2 separate regions of the Homo sapiens genome follow, and region 2 is linked to region 1. The links are contacts of gene promoters, found by promoter capture Hi-C in human tissues and cell types (Jung and others, 2019). All regions are on one chromosome and are shown on one strand. Each heading gives the region's core, a stretch centred on a gene start or on the middle of the fragment in contact. The rest is flanking DNA. Distances are from core to core; before and after follow the strand shown. Region 1 holds the start of DDIT4L (DNA damage inducible transcript 4 like). Region 2 has its middle 46 kb from the start of DDIT4L.

The links. Contacts are between HindIII fragments. The study calls those that stand out against the background at their distance.
Region 2: a contact is called between a fragment that was not itself captured here and the fragment with the promoter of DDIT4L in region 1, in 1 of the 25 tissues and cell types used here (hippocampus).

What each region holds. Positions count from the first base shown.
Region 1 is chr4:100,188,663-100,192,546 of GRCh38, reverse strand. DDIT4L (DNA damage inducible transcript 4 like) reads left to right here and starts at 2,079. Exons shown (of 3, transcript NM_145244.4): 1 at 2,079-2,244; 2 at 2,515-2,654. The coding sequence starts at 2,564. It overlaps DDIT4L-AS1 (DDIT4L antisense RNA 1), which reads right to left and starts at 2,514. Exons shown (of 5, transcript NR_125924.1): 1 at 2,473-2,514. The HindIII fragment of the contact is 5,141 bases long and covers 1-3,884 here.
Region 2 is chr4:100,234,132-100,238,015 of GRCh38, reverse strand. No RefSeq gene overlaps it. Among named protein-coding and RNA genes, the nearest start is that of DDIT4L, 46 kb to the right of the region's middle. The HindIII fragment of the contact is 5,734 bases long and covers 1-3,884 here.

The sequences.
Region 1 (3,884 bases), core at 830-3,329:
TAACCTTGTGAAGATGCAAACTGGTGATAGAATGGATTTTCTACGCTTTTAAGTAGATAAAAAAGGACATTCTTAATTATTCCAGGTATGTGTTTTACCTCAATCATTCCTTATGCCCTGTATGTCCTGAGAGCAAGGCCCATTCAGCCAAGAAGATATTATTTGAAGTCTTTTGTACATAAGTAAATTGTTTTCTGAAGTCAAATCCCAAAGGGCTTTGCAAAATTTCATTTAGTCAGGTGGGCCAAGAGCAACTACTACTTTCTGTAAGTTCCAATAATCTTTCTGGCCCTATGGGGGCATTTACTCTATGAATTATGCCTAAATACCCTAAGGAAATTGAAACGAGTAATTTCTTTATTTCGCTAGTATTGGTTCAGACCACTCATTATATTAATTCTAAAAATCCTCCTTGGAGGCAGGTTAAGTGGCAGCCTCATTAGTAATGCTGCCCAGACAAGGACAAGAGGCTCTGTGGCCTGCCCAGGGACTGACTGTCAGGCGGCTGGCATCCAACTCCTGACCATGGGCCCATCCATTGGTCCTGAACACCCTAGCCACTGAAACCGCTTTTTAATTGGCTTAAATGGGCTTGTTTATTTTCCACTTTTCTGTTTATTGAAGTAGAAGTGGAAACTGGCCTTCAAAGACCAGTCTATCAGCATCTCCTTCCTTGGCTCGCCTGACCTTCAGGCAGTGCAGCTGCCTGAACTGAGTTAAAAATGGACTGTCAAGCTGGCTTTAATTTCTGCTGCTCTGCGTCCGAATGTCCTCCCACTGATCTGTTTATCACACCCTCTATACCCCTTCTGTTGTTGTTTTTCTAAGAGTTTTATGCCAGGACAGCTGAAACTGCCTTTCAAGGTTCTAACCTGCAAATCCTTCTACACATAATCCTAGAGGGCCTGGGAGCCAACACTGGGATCTCTACTGTAGGAACAACCTTCTCCCTCCAGGCATCCCCTAACGCACCCCAAGCTGACTCTCTGAACAGATCATCTCCTACTGGCACACCAAAGCGAGAAAACCGTGGCTTAATAACTTTGGAAGAAAAAAATCAGGTTTGGCTTCTTGCTCATGGGCTATGCGGGCATGTTGCCTCTTTCCAGGGCTCCTCTGCCTCTCTGTGTGTTCCTGTGCAGGACCGCACGGAGCCCTCACAGGGATTATCTGCTGATCCCCAGCAGAATATAAAACTCTTTATCTTCAGTCTCTGAAACCTCTTCAAAATATCCCAAACCAAAGATCCTCCCAACAGGGCTCGCCAGAAACTTCTGCCTCCGGAAATGACAGTTGCTCTCGATGCACGGATAGAGGAGTACCTAAGATCCTACTAATGGTATTGTGTGTTTCTTGGCAAACTCCCGCTCAATTCAAGCTCCCCGCGCTCTGGGGCAAGGTCTAATTAGAAGAGTGCCAGGCTCACCCTTCCTGCGAAGAAAACGCATTAGCCACAGATGTAAGTGCACGAAGAATGCCAGGGAGCCACGGAGTGCGTGGGGTCATTAAGGCCCTTCTTAAAATGCTGGCGAGCCTTCGATGCGGGAAAGGAAAACTAGATCTGACCGCTTGCAGCAGAGGAGGATACAGAAACCCTGGGAGGCAGAGTAGAGTTGACTGGGTTAGAGGCCAGAAATAAGTGCATAAATGATGCTCAGTGGACGTTGCAACAGATTTAAGCCAAGTGTTCAGGATGACACAGCAAAGCCCCAGGACAAGGAAATGCACAGATCGCTTAAAGCTTCCCGCTGCCGGGAGCAGCCTGAGTGTGAAAGCGCGGACGCTCGGGGAGGGGTCGCACTGAACAATCAGGTTCAGGCTTTGACGAGTCGTGCACCCGGAATTGCGGTCCCAGTGGCCCGAGATCTACCCTGGAAGCAACAGGTGTCCGCTCTACCACAGGCTTATCCTCAACTCCCTGTGGCTAGGCTCGGGCTCCCTGGAAGTGTAGAGGTTGAAAGGGGACCAGACTCTGGAGGGGAGGGGCGGGGCGCTGGCCGGGGAGGGGCGGTGCAGGTGGGCGGGCCTGAGCAGGGTGGGGACTGGACCTATAAAGTTCTCGCTGCCCCGGAGGCTATGCTACTGCGAGGAGCCGGCGCAGGGTGGCCCGGGAGGGGTGAGCAGGGTGCCGCTGGCTGCTGGGGTCTGCAGGTCACCGAGTCCCCAGGAGAGGGGACTCCTAAGAAGCCACCTGCCTGTGTTTACCCGGCAGCGAGCGCGCAGGCCCCCGCGAACTCCTGGCAGGTGAGCGAAGCTGCGGCCTTGGTGGGGGCAGCGGGGCCGGGGGGCGCTCCGCGGGGCAGGTCGCTTCCAAGTTTTGCGAACTGTTGAGTTAGTTTCAGGTTGCGGCTCCGCTCCCAGGGCTTTGTCAAATTGAGTTGCAGAGGCCGGTTCCACCCCTTTGGCAAAGGAGTTCCTCCGCTAGTTCGCTCCCGGGACGCCGGGCATTTTAGGAGCCTCTGCACGACTCGCCTGCTTTTGCAAATCCGTCTCTTCTCGCCTCATTTTTTCCAGCGCTCAGGAAAGGCCGTTGCGCCTCGCGAAGGAAACAGAGCCGTTGACCATGGTTGCAACTGGCAGTTTGAGCAGCAAGAACCCGGCCAGCATTTCAGAATTGCTGGACTGTGGCTATCACCCAGAGAGCCTGCTAAGTGGTGAGTGTCCCCGCTGTCCACCCTTCTCCCCTCCCAAGGTCGGTGCCTCTGGATCTATTGGGTGGGCGGGCTTTCGACTTCCTCCCCTACCTCTATGTAGGAGGTGCCACAAAATCCATCTGAGGAGACTCCTTTCCAAATTTTCTAACATCTTCTCTCCATGATAGAAACAAAAGTAGCAAAAGTAGAATACCCGAGGGCTGCATCTTTCTAGTCTGGTGCCAGTAGGCCCCTTGGGATTAAGTTCCTTATCTTACATGATTGTGAAGAACACAGTTATGTGTGTTTTAGCAAATGTATTTACCCTGTAATCAATATCGCCCCTCCCCCTGAATTCCGACGCACCTATTTGCCAGGTATTCCTCACTCTCCCCTGACTCCAGGGAACTACTGATCTGATTTTTATCATTCCAAGTTAGTTTTGCCTTTAGGTAAGTGGAACCATACAGTAGGTATTCTTTTGTGTCTGGTTTCTTTCCCGCAGCCTAATGTTTTTGAGATTCTTTTATGTCCGTTGCTTAAATCAGTGTGTTCGTGTTTATTGTTTATTACTGAGTAGGATTTTCAGTCGTGGATATATCCATTATTCCATTTTTAATGTGAGAAGGAAACTGTTGAACAGCAGCGGTGCTTGACTTGCTGTCATTTGGAATTTTAACAGCAGTTTCTAGGTGAACACACTGCTCTGACACTAAAGAGCTGTAAGAGCATAGATAAACTGCTTAAGCTCTTCGTGTTTTTCTCCTTTCAAGGTGAAGTGGTTGATGACCTAATTTACAGGCCAGAACTCCAAACTTACACGAAGTGGAGAGGAAAAGCCAGTGGCTGATGAAGGTGGAGTAGGCTTAGAGAGAGGAGCTGGGAGGGCATCTGCCTGCACCTTGTTCATTTGACTCCGTGTGGTGTGGCATCCTGCCAAGGGGTAGGATTAATTTGAGGTGTAGGTGACCAAATGCAGAGCTATCTCTTTTCCTTTGAGCCCAGCTAATTTTATTTCCCTAGGACTATTTTGTTTTGCTTGGCTAAGAAAAACCACCCAGCCGGTTACAAATATCCTCATGAACCTCAAAGGTCTTCTCTGCACAATTTTTAATTAAAGAGGCTAAAGCTAAAATTGGGACCTACAGGCCACTCCAGTAAAGACTTAAAGACACAAATTTGATAGATCTTTAATATAACTCTTAAAGCTTTAATACAACTCTTCAAACATAATAGTAAAAATTCTTTATT
Region 2 (3,884 bases), core at 724-3,223, 46 kb before region 1:
CAAAATCTTCATCTTCTACCATCAATAGATAATAAGTAAACATAAAATATAATAAAACATTAGTATGAATATGCCATTAGAAATGTGTAAGTAATTACTGGAAGCAATAGCTAAAAGAATTGAATATAATTGTACCTGGGGACTGGAAAACAAGATGTTGAGAGATTAAGGCAAACTATAATATTATTTGACTTTTATAACTGTGTACACTAAATACCTTGATAAAAATCAAAATTAAACATTAAAAAGATAATAAGAAGAATATAAGATAGACGATAGTCATATGTGCCTCACTCTGGAGAGGAGCAAAATGTTGCCATTGTTCTCTTCAGAATCTAAGGAGATTCTGCTTCTACTCAAGGTCATCTTTATGTAACCTCTTCCCAGACCCCACAGTAGGTTCCAGACAGTATTGGAATTGAAGCTGTTTCATGATCTTTCATTATTTGTCTTTAGCTGTGATTAAGAAGTAACATAAGAACTCCTAAGAAAAAGATATTACCATTGCGTTTTAAGTCATCGTTTTGATTAAGTGACTTAGTGCCATGTTAATGCAATATTGTTGACTCAAGATCAACTGTGTGAAGCTCAGCTTTTGTCTTATCAAGTTCCATGTATTCTGTGCTTTCAAAGCCGTCACTCATTACACCGTTGTTGCCAAAATCAATTCACACAACTTCTAATTTTACATATGCTAAGCTAAAAACAAAGTGGCATACCAATCAGGAAATCCTGACTACAGATGTACTGAAAATGAAGGGTATACCCAGTGCATTTGGTTGCTGAAAAGGAATGTTCCAAGTTGCTACTGCCTGCTGAAGATTAAAATGCTCTGCAAATGTACTGACACTTCCTCCTTCCACCTTCGCTGGTATGACTGATTGTTTCCATCTCAGAAAAGATAATGAAGAGCAATCAGACTGGGTCTCTTAGTAGGAACACGGACAATTTTTTCCACTTTGTCTACCCAGCAGATGAAATAGATATTGGACTTGGGCATGTAACTAATGAAATGAGAACAACAGACTTTAAGAGTATGAAAGGAAAATCCTGGGGCCCCAAAATTACTAAACCAAGGGAAAAGTTAAGCTGGGAGTGGCTCAGGACAAACTTGCCTTTCATTCTATTCAAAGTCATCCCTTTGCTCACTGAGACAGATGTATATTCTGATTGCTGCCTTTGGAAAGGCTTAGTAGAAACTCAAAGAATGCAACTGTTTGTCTCTCCCCTACCTGTAACCTCCATGGAAGTATCCTCCCTGTTTTAAGTTGCCCCTGCCTTTCTGGACGGGACCAATGTACTTTTTAAATATATTGATTGATGTCTCATGCTTCCCTAAAATGTATAAAACCAACCTGTGCCCCAACCACCTTGGCCACATGTCATCAGGACCTCCTGAGGCTGTGTCATGGGCATGTGTCCTTGACTTTGACAAATAAACCTCCTAAAATGATTAAGACTTGTCTCATCATTTTTCTCAATTGACATCTGGTAACCATGAAGGAATTCTGAGTAAAGATGACCTGGTCTGCAGCCGCTCGTCTATCAGTGTTTGGTACTGGCTTGGGCACCTATAGCCCAAACTGATAGGACAATTGCTGAAGCCCAGGAACTCTTTCCTTCAGGGATCCCTGATCTTCCAACTTTTTTTTGTTGGGGGTCTGAGGTTTATTTGCTGTTAAAAAACTCCTTTTGGGGGGAGTTTCTACTCTTTTCCATCAAGGAAGGCAAGCCTGCCTCTGCATCAGCAGAGAGCGATTTTGAGCTTGGGCCCCATTACTAGGTAAAAAAATCGGTTTGGGATTCTGTCTCGAAAATTCTTTTTAAACGATTAAAGTTAGCATTAACAACCAGCTGATGTTAATTTCTGCTTACACATAGAACACTCAAAAATCTTATAATTTGTGTAATCATTGTTGGTTTTGCTTAACTATTTTTTTGTTTGTTTCTGTCTTGTTGGGGTTTTTTGTGCATGTGCTTTGGTCCTTTCCCTTATAGAGTTCAACCAACTCCAAACCCTCTAGCACATGAGTGTGGAATCTTCCACTTGGAAGAACTAAGAGCACCTTGCTCCCCTCAGCCTTTCAAGGCATTTTCAGGCGACTGAGAATCACGTGAGGGTGTCTGGGAGGAATGCTTCCTAAGACATGCAGCCGCTCTAAATAGGATTCCTCCTCAGAAAAATGTATTTAGGGTCTAATCTCAACCAGCAGGTGCATATAAGGAGCTGACCCCTCCCACAGCTTTAGCCCCTGACATACTGTGCCAGGTAGCCACAACATGGGTGGACCAAACCAGTTCAAGGGGTAACGGCCCTGAAAAGCTAGGCCTGTGAGCAGCACATTTTGGGTCCAACACCTGTACCAACTTGGTCAAATTCAAAGGTGAACTCTTAAATAATGGGGAGAAAGGTCTCTAAAGTGGCTAAATACCCACAAAAAAAAGGTGGTATGGTGGGGGGAGGAAAATGGCCAGCAAAAGGAAACAAAAAAGAGGAAAGCTTTTGGTTTTGACCACTAAAGGTACTTTCTTTATATAACAAGGCCCCTTTTTGCCAGCCAGACCAAACTGAAAGAGCAAGAGCTGTACTTCTGAAATAGCAGCATTTTGTCCTAGCTGAAATATGGAGATGATATTTCAAAAGTTTTTTTTTTTTTTAAGGAACTCAATGGTTAAAAGTCAAGATGTGTAAATGTGTGCATATTTGTATTTAAAAAGCCTTCATGTTTTGGGGTTTTTCTGTTTATTTTTCTCTCCTAGAACCTTGCCTTTTTTTGAGCAAAAAAATATTTTTCTTCTCAGTTAACTGAATTCTATTTTCACCTGACTTTTTGACTAAAATAGTTATTGCAACAGAGGCTACTCTTGGGTTTTATAATGAAGAGTGTAATTTAGACACTCAGAAGCACCTTTACTTAAAAAAAAAAATTACGTGCACTGAAAAAGCATCACATGGTCTAACCTCAAAATAATTATCATTTTTTGAAGACCCAGGATTCAGTGTGGGCTCTGCCAAGAGCTCAGAGATCCAGTTAAAAAAAAAAAAATAGGTAGTCTCTATCTAAATAAAATTGGTCTCCTTTTACAATCCATTGATAAATTTATATAATTTTATGTTTGATTGGCTAAAAGAAAAATAAAATCATCTCCTTCTGACTACCCTATTTTTATGAATTCGAACAGACCACCAGACTTTTTCTCTCTGTACCTTATGATGCAAATTTTTCTATTTGATTTTCACCTGAGTTGTTTCCTTTAATATGCAAATTTAAGGCTATTTAGCTGACAACTGCCTAGGGTTGTGGAACAGGTTATCAAGAATTGGGAAGTCTAAAATAGGAAAAAACAAAAAAGGATCTTTATGAATCTGTAAGATGTACTTCTATCCACATGCCTGATATGTCTATGCATTTATGTGTTGTGTACACAATGTTTCACTACTGAAAATACATAAAAGAGCTCTAATTAATTGGTTCAAGAAAAATAAAAGCACTTGAATCAAATACTTTATCAGGAATAAAGAAAAGACTAGTCAAATGTTTTTTCAATTTTATATAACTTAAGTAAAATCTTTAATAATAAGCTAGCTTTAAAATTATTGGTAAAGTAATATTAGAAATGTCTTAAGAATTGCCAGCATACATTTTTGTTTGCATTTATTAATCAAGGAATTTCATACTTATCCCTGCCAAATACTGTAAGGTATCAAAATTTGGCATGGGGGTTACAAAACTATAAACCCAGCCCAAAATAGAATGATCTTTTCTTGTGTAACTTTTAATACATAAGACATTGATATTGGTTTAATAAAAATAGCTGCATCTTGAATTTAGTAAGATTACCATAACCTCTAATCCTGTGGCTTTCGGCAGTCTAGTTCACAG